2 separate regions of the Homo sapiens genome follow, and region 2 is linked to region 1. Evidence: promoter capture Hi-C in 16 types of primary human blood cells and fetal thymus (Javierre and others, 2016). All regions are on one chromosome and are shown on one strand. Each heading gives the region's core, a stretch centred on a gene start or on the middle of the fragment in contact. The rest is flanking DNA. Distances are from core to core; before and after follow the strand shown. Region 1 holds the start of UBASH3A (ubiquitin associated and SH3 domain containing A). Region 2 overlaps UMODL1 (uromodulin like 1).

What was found. The method cuts DNA at HindIII sites, captures the fragments that hold promoters and counts their contacts. A CHiCAGO score of 5 or more calls a contact.
Region 2: a fragment that was not itself captured here is called in contact with the fragment with the promoter of UBASH3A in region 1 in 2 of 17 cell types (M0 macrophages and M1 macrophages); the score reaches 7.0 in M0 macrophages.

What each region holds. Positions count from the first base shown.
Region 1 is chr21:42,401,571-42,407,358 of GRCh38, reverse strand. It overlaps UBASH3A (ubiquitin associated and SH3 domain containing A), which reads right to left and starts at 3,457. Exons shown (of 15, transcript NM_018961.4): 1 at 3,301-3,457; 2 at 998-1,051. The coding sequence starts at 3,413. The HindIII fragment of the contact is 825 bases long and covers 3,113-3,937 here.
Region 2 is chr21:42,137,017-42,142,804 of GRCh38, reverse strand. It overlaps UMODL1 (uromodulin like 1), which reads right to left. Exons shown (of 23, transcript NM_001004416.3): 22 at 5,164-5,366; 23 at 1-709. The coding sequence ends at 5,185. Among named protein-coding and RNA genes, the nearest start is that of UMODL1-AS1, 31 kb to the right of the region's middle. The HindIII fragment of the contact is 352 bases long and covers 1,931-2,282 here.

The sequences.
Region 1 (5,788 bases), core at 2,208-4,707:
AGGAGGGGGCATCCCATTGGGAACACTGCACGTTCAGAGACCCAGGATCAGTATCTGCCCTCCTGCTTTGGAGAGGACACTCCAGCCTCCCAGGACCTGGTTTTTATTGTTTGATTTTCCCCGTGGCTATCTCAGGGCAGAGGATGAAGGACTCCCCACAGCACATCCGGGTAGGAGAGGGTTTTAGAGAAACGGTGGCCCTCCTCTCCATCCCCAGAGCAGAGAACAGGCCCATGGCAGTGGGTGGCTTGAAGAATCACTCACGCAGCTGGTACCTGGTGAGGTCACCTCAAATCAGAGCCCTCACCCGACCCACACACCTGGCACCCTTAGACCCACACACCTGGCTTCATGACCACCAGTAAACTCCCTTCCCCTCAGAGGCAGCCCGAGAGCATGGTGGCCGCTAGTCTCTATCAGCAAAGATGTCAATTATGTCTCAAATCTTTCCATCAATAAACACAAACATCCTCCTATCTATCTCAATCTTATCCATCGTAGTAGGCAGTTGAGGAGGACATAATCAAACACAAGTATGCAAAATCCCAGCCTGCTCTTCAATTACTGAAATAGGCTGAATATTAGCAGTACTAATATAAACCCAAATGTTACCATTTTTAACCTAATTACTTTATTCTAACAATTACCCTCATTTACGTGCTTATCACAACACAACAATCATGTCTTCCCCATTTACTCAACAAAGCACATGAACCTGTTCTTCTTGGCAGTCAAATTGGATTGAATCAGGTTTGTAAGTGAAGAAAGCCTTGTTCAGAGTTCTCTCTTTCTCTTTCCATGGTTAACCAAAGCCCTGTGCCCCTCCCTCAGTGCACTATGGGTAGGCAGGGAGGTTATTTTGTTTCACTTCCGCAGTGGCCCCATCCCACCCAGAGGCGCCCGGCTCTTCCTGGTATCAGCCCTGGTGGGAGGGAGTCCTTAGGCACAGGGAATTCAGCCCAAACGCCCCTGGGTCTACAGAAGCAGCTGCACTCACCAGGCCAAGGCCTCCTCCGCCGTCTTCCTCCCCGTGGCTGCCAACGCTTTCAGCCTGCAGAAGAGCAGACACAGACACAAAGTCACGTCGCCCATTCTTGGGAAAAGGGTCAGAGAGGCAGGGTGTGGCCTTGCACACCCAGGATCTTTGGGGGGTGCTCTGAAGAGGGCCTGATGCTGAACTTCCAGCTGGAAGTTCTAGCGCCTGTCCCCTGAGTGCTGCCATCGTGGTTTTGGACAATGCTGACCAGCTCACACCTCCCCCTCACTGTCCTTCCCTGGCTACCCGCTTCAGCCCTTGGCACGGGGTCTCAGGGCTGAGGACCTGACCTCCGCCCGCTCCTGCAATCCCTCTCCCTGGCCTGCCCCCCCCCCCCCCACTGCCTAGATCAAATGGACCCACCCTGCGGAACGTGCCCCTGGCTCGGACACACGCTTTCCTCACCCCAGCATCAGCGACCCTGATCCCCAGGCTCGCCTCCCACACCTCTCTGCTGGGAAACAGCCCTTTCCAAAGCACCCAGGCAGGCACTTGTTACGGCTTACACAGTCCCCTTGCACCCACGGCTCTCCCCTGCTAGACCAAGAACTCCCTGAACACAGGACTGAGTCTTATTCATCACGGTAACCCGGGACGTAAGTACATTGCATTGAATTGGGCAGAACTGGACCAAATGAAACAGAATGGAATATAGCAAAGGTAATTTATCAGGAATGCAGACTGGAAACAGCGGGCGTCCATGAGGAACCCACCACATGATGCCGAATGCTGCTATTTGGGTGGGCACCGATGGGGCTGTGGCCACCTGGAGAGGTTTGAACAAGGCAGCCTTGGTGCAGGGCACTTACTATGAGGTGCTCTGGTGTGGGGAAATTAACACACATTTCTCTTCCTCCAACATGTGCTTAATGTTTAAACTGGAAGGAATTTTGAGTAGAAGTCCATGCTATACGTTTAGTAGTAAAATCCAGCGTGGACTCCTTCAAAGGCATGGAAAGCTGGTTCGGGTTCCACCTCCGCCACTAATGCACTCTCTGGGCCCAGTGTCCTGCCTGCACTGGGTGGTGAGCAGTGGACAAAAGCTGCCTTGTCTGTAATGCCTGGACGGTGCCCGGTGGCCGCCCTGCACATGCCTGACCCCACTCCCCATTCAAAGGCCCCTGGCTTAGCTTGAACATAACAGTGACGACAAAGCCCTGATTTGGGGAGAAGAAATGGGTTTGTCTAGCTTCAGAGTTACTTCACCCAATTTGGCCAAGCTTTTGTTATAGTGTGGAAGGAAAGTTTAGCTCCTTCCCCAACCCAAAGTTACCTAAAGTGTGTTTCTGATACATTTTTCCATGTGAAAAAATGAATGGGTCAGATTTAAAGTGTGTTTCTGATACATTTTTCCATGTGAAAAAATGAATGGGTCAGATTTAAGGCACTGGTTTGCCATGAAAGCTGTAACCCAATGTTGGTGTCGTGGCCTCCCTCTCCGAGAGTGGTAACTCTGAAGGCTAAGCTCTTCCACATGCAGGCCTTTCCCTTGGGTAAGCAGGGTCGCGCTCACACTGTGTCTGAAGTTTCCTACCCATTTGTTTCGTTATCAGACACTCAAGGGATTGTCTCTGAGGACAAGTGACTTTCCCCGGGCAGCGTGGAAGCACAGCCCTGCTGACAGTTGGTCCCAGTGTTAGAGACTCAGCGGGCTTTGGGGCCTTTCACGTTAGAGTTTGAATATCTTGAAACGCCACTTTCAGAGTCACTGAGCTGCACACAAAGAGATTACAACCAGGCCCCAATCTCCTCCAAACCCCCAAAATGGGGCACCCAGAGTAATACATGGCTTCTGATTTTCACAAATTTCAGGGTCCCCCAGTCAGCCAGCCGAGCTGGTCTTTAAAAGGTCAAGAATATCAGGGGTATTCTTGTGCCTCCCTGGGCCACACATAAAATACGCTAACACTAATAATAGCTAATGAGCTAAAAAAAAAATCTCATAATATTTTAAGAAAGTTTACCAATTTGTGTTGGGCAGCCAACACAAATTGAACAGGGCAGCCTTAGGAGGCTGAGGTGGGATGATGGCTTAAGCCCAAAGCTGTCCTGGGCCTCATGTGGGTTGGACAAGCTTGGTCAAGATCACCTCATTTACGAGAAGCAGAAGAGGGCCCTGTGAAGAGGCAGTGTCTTACCCTGCAAGGTGCACTGCTTTGGCAGGAAGCCGTACCCTACACCCCTGCAGCTCCATGCCGGGGGCCGCAGCAGGGTCTGGCACCAGCCTTACTGGCTGGGCCCCGGGGTCTCTGGGCAGTACTCACGCGGTGTGCACCGGGAAGCCCATGGCCAGGAGGGGCTCCAGGAGCGAGGGGCTGCTGCGGCTCTTGAGCTTGTTGGAGACCTTGGCGTAGAGCTGCGTCTCCCCCGCTGCCATCTCTTCCTGCCCTTAGGCCAAGAAGCTCGCCTGCACACAGAAATGAGGAGATAAAGCAAGAGGGGGAGAGGCAAGGCTGAGGCTGTGAAGAAAAACCTCAAGCTCTTTTTGATCTTTCTGACAAAAGTTGATATCCTGTTTGCATGAGATATCAGTTTTCAGAATTCTGTTTGCAGGATGCTGGGTGCAGCGTCCACCAATCCTAACTGTTTCCACCACGGGAGTTTGAGGCTAAAGGTCCAACCGAGCCCCTGCACGGGATCAGCCTCTGTAGGGACTTGGCTAGTATTCGGGAGCAAGAATGCGTGAGAGCATGGGGGAAGGAAGCGGAGGAGAAGTCAGGGAATGAGTTCCCTCCTGGATCCTGCTGGCCCCCTGCCCTGACCCACCCTGGATCCCAGTCTCCTTGTCTGTGAACAAGACATTAAACCCCACTCTATCTATTGTCTCGGATTGCTGGAAAACTTACTGGTTCTTTCAGTCATTCATTGACTTGTTTTTTTATTTTAAAAACTTTAAAAGCTTTATATGTGTACAGAAAAGTTGATGAATCATATGTGTATAGCTCAAGGAATTTCCATAAATGAGCCCACACCCCTAATTCCCCCACGACCCAAAATCAAACAGGGCAACCAGGGGAATTTTGTACCTCCTCCACCCAAGGGGACATTTGGAAATGTCTGGAGACATTTTTGTTTCCAAAATGAGGCGGGGGTGGTGGTGGGTGGGGTGGACATCGTGGTACCGGCACTAGTGGGTAGAGGCCGGGAATGTCACAGTGCCCAGGACAGTCTCCCCAACAAAATTTCACTAGTGCCAAGGTGGAGATAGCCTGCTCTGGAACATTCTCAGAACCTCAGATGCACCTCTGCCCCCAGCTCAGCCTCCTCCAGTTATCTCCTCCCTCCCCCAGAAAGTAAACTGCTGTATCACTTGTATATGAATTGTGCCTGTGGTTGAGCCTTATGTAAATAGAACCATATAGCATATTCTCTATCATATCTCATTTCTTTTTCCTCAAATTATGCCTGTAAAATTTATCCACATTATTGCTTGTAGCCACAGTTAGTTCACTGTTATTGCTGTGTAGTATTTGATTAATAAATATACCAGCCAGGCGTGGTGGCTCACGCCTGTAATCCCAGCACTTTGGGACTTTGGGAGGCCAAGGGGGGGGTGGATCACCTGAGGTCAGGAGTTCGAGACCAGCCTGGCCAACATGTTGAAACCCTGTCTCTACTAAAAAATACAAAAATTAGTTGGGCATGGTGGTGCATGCCTGTAATCCCAGCTACTCAGGAGGGTGAAGCAGGAGAATCATTTGAACCCAGGAGGTGGAGGTTACAGTGAGCAAAGATTGCATCACTGCACTCCAGCCTGGGACAGAGTGAGACTCCAGCTCAAAAATAAATAAATAAAATAAATATAACATAATTCATTTATCCATTTCTCTGTTGATATGCATTCAGGAAGTTTTCGGTTGTTTTGCTATTGTAACTAATGTTGCTGAGGACGTTCTTGTATGTGTCTTTGAGTGCCTTGTGCATGCATTTCTGTTAGGTGTGCATCTAGGAGTGGGGTTGTTGGATCACAGAGCACGTGAAACTCCATTAGGAACTGCCAAGCAGTTGTACAAAGCTCTATATCCTCATGCACACTTAATATTATCAGTCCCTAATTTTAGCCACTCTGTGGTGGGGGTGGTGTGTAGTTGTATCTCCCTGTGGTTCCCATTTGTATTTCCCTGAGGGATAATGATATTGGGCACCATTTCACAGGCTTATTGCCCATTTGAATATCCTCTCTGGGGAAGTTCCTGTTCAGATATTCTGCTCTTTTTTTTTTTTCACTAGGGTGTTTGCTTTTCTTATCAATTTGTGGGAACTCTGGTTAGAGTTTTCTGCATCCTGTTCAAGAGATTGTTGTTAATCCAACATCGATGAAGATCATCTATGTTTTGTTCTAGAAGTTTTGCTACTTTTGCTCTTCATATTTAGCTCTATGATCCATTTGAATTCATTCTGTGTATGGTGTGAGGTAGGGGTAAACTTTCATCTACTTCCGCATTGAAAGGGCTATCCTTTGCCCAGTGAATTGCAGTAGGAGGCTTATTGTAAATCAAGTGACTGTATATGGATTAGTTTTTTCTAACTTGTGTGCTCTCTTGTTTGATTTGTCCCTCTTTGTGCCCATTCTACACTGTTTTAATCACTATAGTGCTAAACCCTCTGGTTTTGTCCTTTGCTTTTTCATAAACATTTACAAATCAGGTTGCCATGGTGTGTCATAGTGTGTCATTGGGTAGTGCAAAAAGATTCACACCTACAATCAATTGATTTTCAACAAGGATGCCAATGAAATTCAATGGGGGAAGG
Region 2 (5,788 bases), core at 857-3,356, 260 kb after region 1:
ACCTCCCACTGTGGTCGGATTATATGAAGAAACGGCTGTGAAAATGCTTAGAAAAATGTAAAGAGTGATGTGTACCTACGTTATTTCTGCTTATTGAAAAGGTTGTCACATTAATCGAGTGCCTTTTGAGTCGCTGTCGTGTAAATAAAAGCAATACCTTGGTACACAGGAGAAAAGTCAAACAGCATAAACATCCACTAAAAATAACATTAGCAGTGTATTTCTAAGACTGACCTATTTTCGAAAGAGCATCAAGAGCGCGGTCGGGTCTCTCTGAGAATGTGAAATATTCTATATTTGCCAAAGGGTGACGGACGCCAAGGGAGGGCAAGCCCAGGAGGGTTCTGAGGGCTGGTGTGGAGGGTCACAGGCCTGGGAGGTCTAGGCTGCGGGGGCCGCGCGGGTGGTGGTGTAGCCGCAGCACCCCCAGGACTGCCCCCGTCTTCCGCAGCCCCTTCATCTGCCCCTGGGCTGTGGCTCCTCTAGGACCTACAGGACGGCCTGCCTCTTCGGGACAGACGGTGGCTGCTGTCTTCCTTTCTGGGCTCACCCGGGCTCTGGCAGAGCCCACCCGTCAGAGCAGACCTCCGTTAAGGCTTGAAGAGTTAAGAACCGAGGGATGGGTGGAGGTGCAGAGAGACACTGGGGATCCCGGGGGAGCCCACCAGGGAAGCTCTGAGGTTCTGGAGGCAGCTTGACTCACGGCGACCTGTGTGGAGGAAGAGGTCACCTGGGTCAGCTTGCACGCAGGAAAGGTAAAGTTAATACAGAAAACCCCAGGAGGAGGGGTAGTGGAGGAAACACCAACCCGAGGACATGGCGTCTATGTTTACTGGAGAGGGACAGATCAAGCCCCTAATGAAAAGGCAGCCACTCCCAGAGTGCCCAGTGGAACGGGGACCATGGGGCTGTGCCTGCCCTCAGGTGAGCGATGCTCCTGACACGCCAACTGGTGGGGGTGGCTGGTGAAGATACCTGAGCCAGACGAGCACAGCTGGGGCCCCTGCACCTTTGCACCATCCGTGGAGAACCCACCAGGACTCTGGGAACATCTCTGAGTGGGGCTGCCCAAGGGTCGACCTGGTGGGGGTGGGTGGGTTGGCTGATGGTTTTCAAAGAGCAGATGTCTGCAGGAACTTTAGAACTGGTGAGACAGTTCTCACTTCGAAAGACAGGAGCCCCGGGAGAACAAAGAAAGACAAGAGGCCAGTTTTCCCTCGGATGTTTTAATTTCGAGGAAGGGGACATCCAGCATGACCCAGCACCAATACACCAGATTTCCTTAGAAAGCTAGCGGGATAGTGTTGGCCTCATCGCTGGGATTCGCATCTTAAATATTAAGTAAAAGGCACTGACATTTCCTCGTAACTCTATCTAGGGAGGTGACTGGCCTCTAGCACTGGCCCTGTCTATGCTGTAAGGGTCCTGAGACCCCAGAATACTGCGTATGTTAGTTACCAGGAGTCCTGGCAGGAGAGACGGGAAAGACAAAGCTAACACAAGCATCCCCCTCACATGGGCAGAATCACATCCACAGGCGGGTGGTGTTTTCTCTGAAGTTGCCCAGCAAGGGCAGCATGGAGGTTGCCTTTTGGAAACGTGTGCTGTAGTCTGGGCTTTGCTGGTGACCTGGGAGGATTGGCTTGAGTTCTCTGGGCCCCATTTCCTCATTTTAAGATTGGAGCCAGTGTCTACTATACTTTGCTGAGTTGTTTCAAAAATCTGTTATCTCAAGAAAATAAGGACCTGAGCACAGGGAAGACGGGCTTGGCTGGGGAAGCTGCCTGCCTGACGAAGAGGGGGCGGGCTGGTATTGACAATGTCTCCTGCCCAGGATGGGAGGCAATGGGGTTGGTGAGGAGGGGGTCTTCATGGCCCAAACCCCATGGGCCCCAAACCAGAGGCCAAAAGCTACCAAACTGAGGAAGCTTCCTTATTTTTCACTATTAGAGTGTAAAGTTGAACTGAAACTTCGCTGTTGTTCCCTGCCCCTTTGGGATCCCCGGAGGTGGCTGAGGACCCAGACCACAATTGAGCAGCAGCACCTGCCTCCCGGGGAGGCTCAGGGGTCCTGGGAAGGCTCCTTCCCTGTAACCACAACAGTTGCTGCCTCTCAACTGGGACACCTGGTGTCCCCACTGCAAGAATTAAGAATTGTGGATCCCCTTGCACAGCTGCTAAAATACAAATTCTCCGGGTCTCTGATGAAGGGGAAAGGCAAGGGGCATTGTTCTAAGGGTCCATCAGTCATGTGAACACTAGTGTAAGAAAGGCTCTAAGCTTGGTAGCTAAGAGAGCTGACCCCAGAGCCAAACGGAAATCCCATGCAGCCCCAGCTCGGCCACCTCCCAGCCATGTGACCTGGGAGGCCTATCCCTTCCTGCCCTGGACCTCCCAACCACGTGACCTGGGACACATCCCTTCCTGCCCTGGACCTCCTAGCCACGTGACCTGGGACACCTATCCCTTCTTGCCCTGGACCTCCTAGCCACGTGACCTGGGACGTCTATCCCTTTCTGCCCTGGATTCCCATCTATAACACAGGATGCTAATAACAGCACAACCTCACGGGGATGTTGGGAAACAACAGACATTGTCAACATCAGCCCACCCCCTCTTCGTCGGGCAGGCAGCTTCTCCAGCCCAGCCCATCTTTCCTGTGCTCAGGTCCTTATTTTCTTGAGATAACAGATTTTTGAAACAACTCAGCAAAGTGTAGTAGACACTGGCTCCAATCTTAAAATGAGGAAATGGGGCCCAGAGAACTCAAGCCAATCCTCCCAGGTCACCAGCAAAGCCCAGACTACAGCACACGTTTCCAAAAGGCAACCTCCATGCTGCCCTTGCTGGGCAACTTCAAAGAAAACGCCACCCGCTTGTGGAAGTGATTCTGCCCATGTGAGGGGGACGCTTGTGTTAGCTTTGTCTTTCCCGTCTCTCCTGCCAGGACTCCTGGTAACTAACATGCGCAGTATTCTGGGGTCTCAGGACCCTTACAGCATAGACGGGACCAGTGCTAGAGACCAGTCACCTCCCTAGATAGAGTTACGAGGAAATGTCAGTGCCTTTTACTTAATATTTAAGATGCGAATCCCAGCGATGAGGCCAACACTATCCCACTAGCTTTCTAAGGACATCTGGTGGGTCGGTGCTGGGTCATGCTGGATGTCCCCCTCCTTGAAATTAAAACATCGAGGGAAAATTGGCCTCTCGTCTTTCCTTGTTCTCCTGTTGGCTGAGAGGGTGGGCAGTTGATATGGTGTGGGTCTGTGTCCCCACCCAAATTTCATGTTCAATGTGATCCCCATATTAAAGGTGGGGCCTGGTGGGAGGTGGTTGGATCATGGGGCGGATCCTTCATAAATGATTTAGCACCATCCTCTTGGTGCTGTCTCACGATAGAGCTCTCATAAGATCTGGTTGATTAAACATCTGTAGCACCTGCCCCAACCCCTTCCTCCTGCTCCAGCCATGGAAGACGTGCCTGCTTCCCCTTGGTCTTCTGCCATGATTGTAAGTTTCCTGAGGCCTCCCCAGAAGCCGAAGCCGCATGCTTCCCTTACAGCATTTGGAGTCAGCAGTCTCACACGCTGCCAGATAAGCCTCATGATTGCTTCTCTTCTTCTTTTATTAGTATTTATTTATTTTTGAGGCAGGGTTCCCCTCTGGAGTGTAGTGGGGCAGTCTCGGCTCACTGCAACCTCCACCTCTCGAGCTCAAGGGATCCTTCCACCTCAGCCTCCCAAGTAGCTGGGACCACAGGTGTGTGCCACCACACCCGGCTTATTTTTGTATTTTTTGTAGAGATGGAGTCTTTCTATCTTGCCCAGGCTGGTCTGGAACTCCTAAGCTTAAGCGATCCTCCTGCCTTGGCCTCCAAAAGTGCTAGGATTACAGGCATGTTCTTTTTTTAGAAAAATCTCAAAATTTGGCCGGGCACGGTGGCTCACGCCTGTAATCCCAGCACTTTGAGAGGCCGAGACGGGTGGATCACCTGAGGTCAGGAGTTGGAGACCAGCCTGACCAACATGGAGAAACCCTGTATCTACTAAAAATACAAAACTAGCTGGGTGTGGTGGCGCATGCCTGTAATCCCAGCTACTCAGGAGGCTGAGACAGGAGAATCGCTTTAACCTGGGAGGTGGAGGTTGTGGTGAGCCAAGATCGCACCACTGCACTCCAACCTGGGCAACAAGAGCAAAACTCCATCTCAAAAAAAAAAAAAATCTGAAAATCTTTACAAAAGTCCCAGTCTTGGTGTTTCCCACTGAAGGTTTATACTAACCATACTGCCCTCCATAATGCTTGTCATTCATTTGTGGTGAACTATGTGCAGGCCCAGGAAAAACAAAAGTCCACAGGGCAGATCAGAGAAGCATCTTCAGCCTCAAAAGGTCATACATAAGTCGGGGCTGCGGGCATGAGCAGCAAGGTGTGGGGGGTCCACTGTGGCATCCACACCACACGTGACAATCCCTACGAGCACCAGGTTTCAGGGACACTCGGCCGAGGACCATCGTTAGGATCCACCAGCAATTGAGGGCGTCAGACCCCATAGCGGGGCCTCTTGGGCATCTTCCCATTTAAATCTCACACCCTCCACGTGGCCGGAAATGTTACCATGGTTTCTTTTACAAATGATGAAACCGAGGCACCAAGAGGCTCAGGACCTTGCCCGGGTGGTCAAGAGAGTGGGTGGCAGAGATGGGATTTGTGGTGGGCCCCTGGGTCCTGTGGTCACCCATATAGCACTGCCGCTGGTATCGTGGAGCCAGTCCAGTGGGTGTGTGAAGCGATCGAACCTTCACCAACCTACCTGTAGTTTCCCCTCTCTGCCTGCTCCTGGTTGCTTTTTCAGAAGGGAGGCTGCACGCTCCGTAAAGGGCCACAAAACACAGACACACACATATCTACCCTTGGCTGAATCCTGCTGGCCGTCCCCATCACCATGGATGGCAAGGCAGGACATGCACATCAGATGCCCCCACTCCGCACCCACCTTCTTATCAGCCTGCACCTCCTACCCCACTCCACACCCACCTTCCTGTCAGCCTACACCTCCCACCCCACTCCGCACCCACCCTCCTGTCAGCCTGCACCTCCCACCCCACTCCACACCCACCTTCCTGTCAGCCTGCACCTCCCACCCCACTCCGCACCCACCTTCCTGTCAGCCTGCGCCTCCTATTCGTAGAACACCTGGTAGCTGAAGTTGTTGGACTGGATTTTAAAGTTGTATCTCCCATTCATTCTCTGGTAGCGCACGATCAGAAGGGTGGCTGTTCCCGCCACCAGCACGAAGATGGCCACCACAATAAGGACCACATAACCGGCACCCAGGCCTGCTTCTGCATGAGGAGGCTCACCTCGGGGAGGAGACAGGCACAGGTGAGAGATCTGCACAAACGGGAGGAATGCGATAGAGCAAGCCCTCCACCCGGATCCGGGGCTGATGGATCTGAAGCACGGGGAATGCAAGGCCCACGTGTGCACCCGTGTGCCTGTGGGTTACCAAAGCTGAGGAAGGTGTCCAAGCCCAGGACAGCATTGCAGTAAGGACAGCGCAGCCTGGGGAGGCCTGGGCCTTGAGGGTGGGGCTGCGCGGGACCAGCAGGTCCTCCTGGTGGGAGGGGGAGAGCCCAGTCAGATTCCCTGCATGGACACACGGGTTGGGCCTACACAGGCTCCACAACACAGAGGAATGAGCCATCCCCAGACCCAGAGGAGCAATTAAAAAATAGAGAGTGCAGGCTGGGCGCAGTGGCTGACGACTGTAATCTCAGCACTT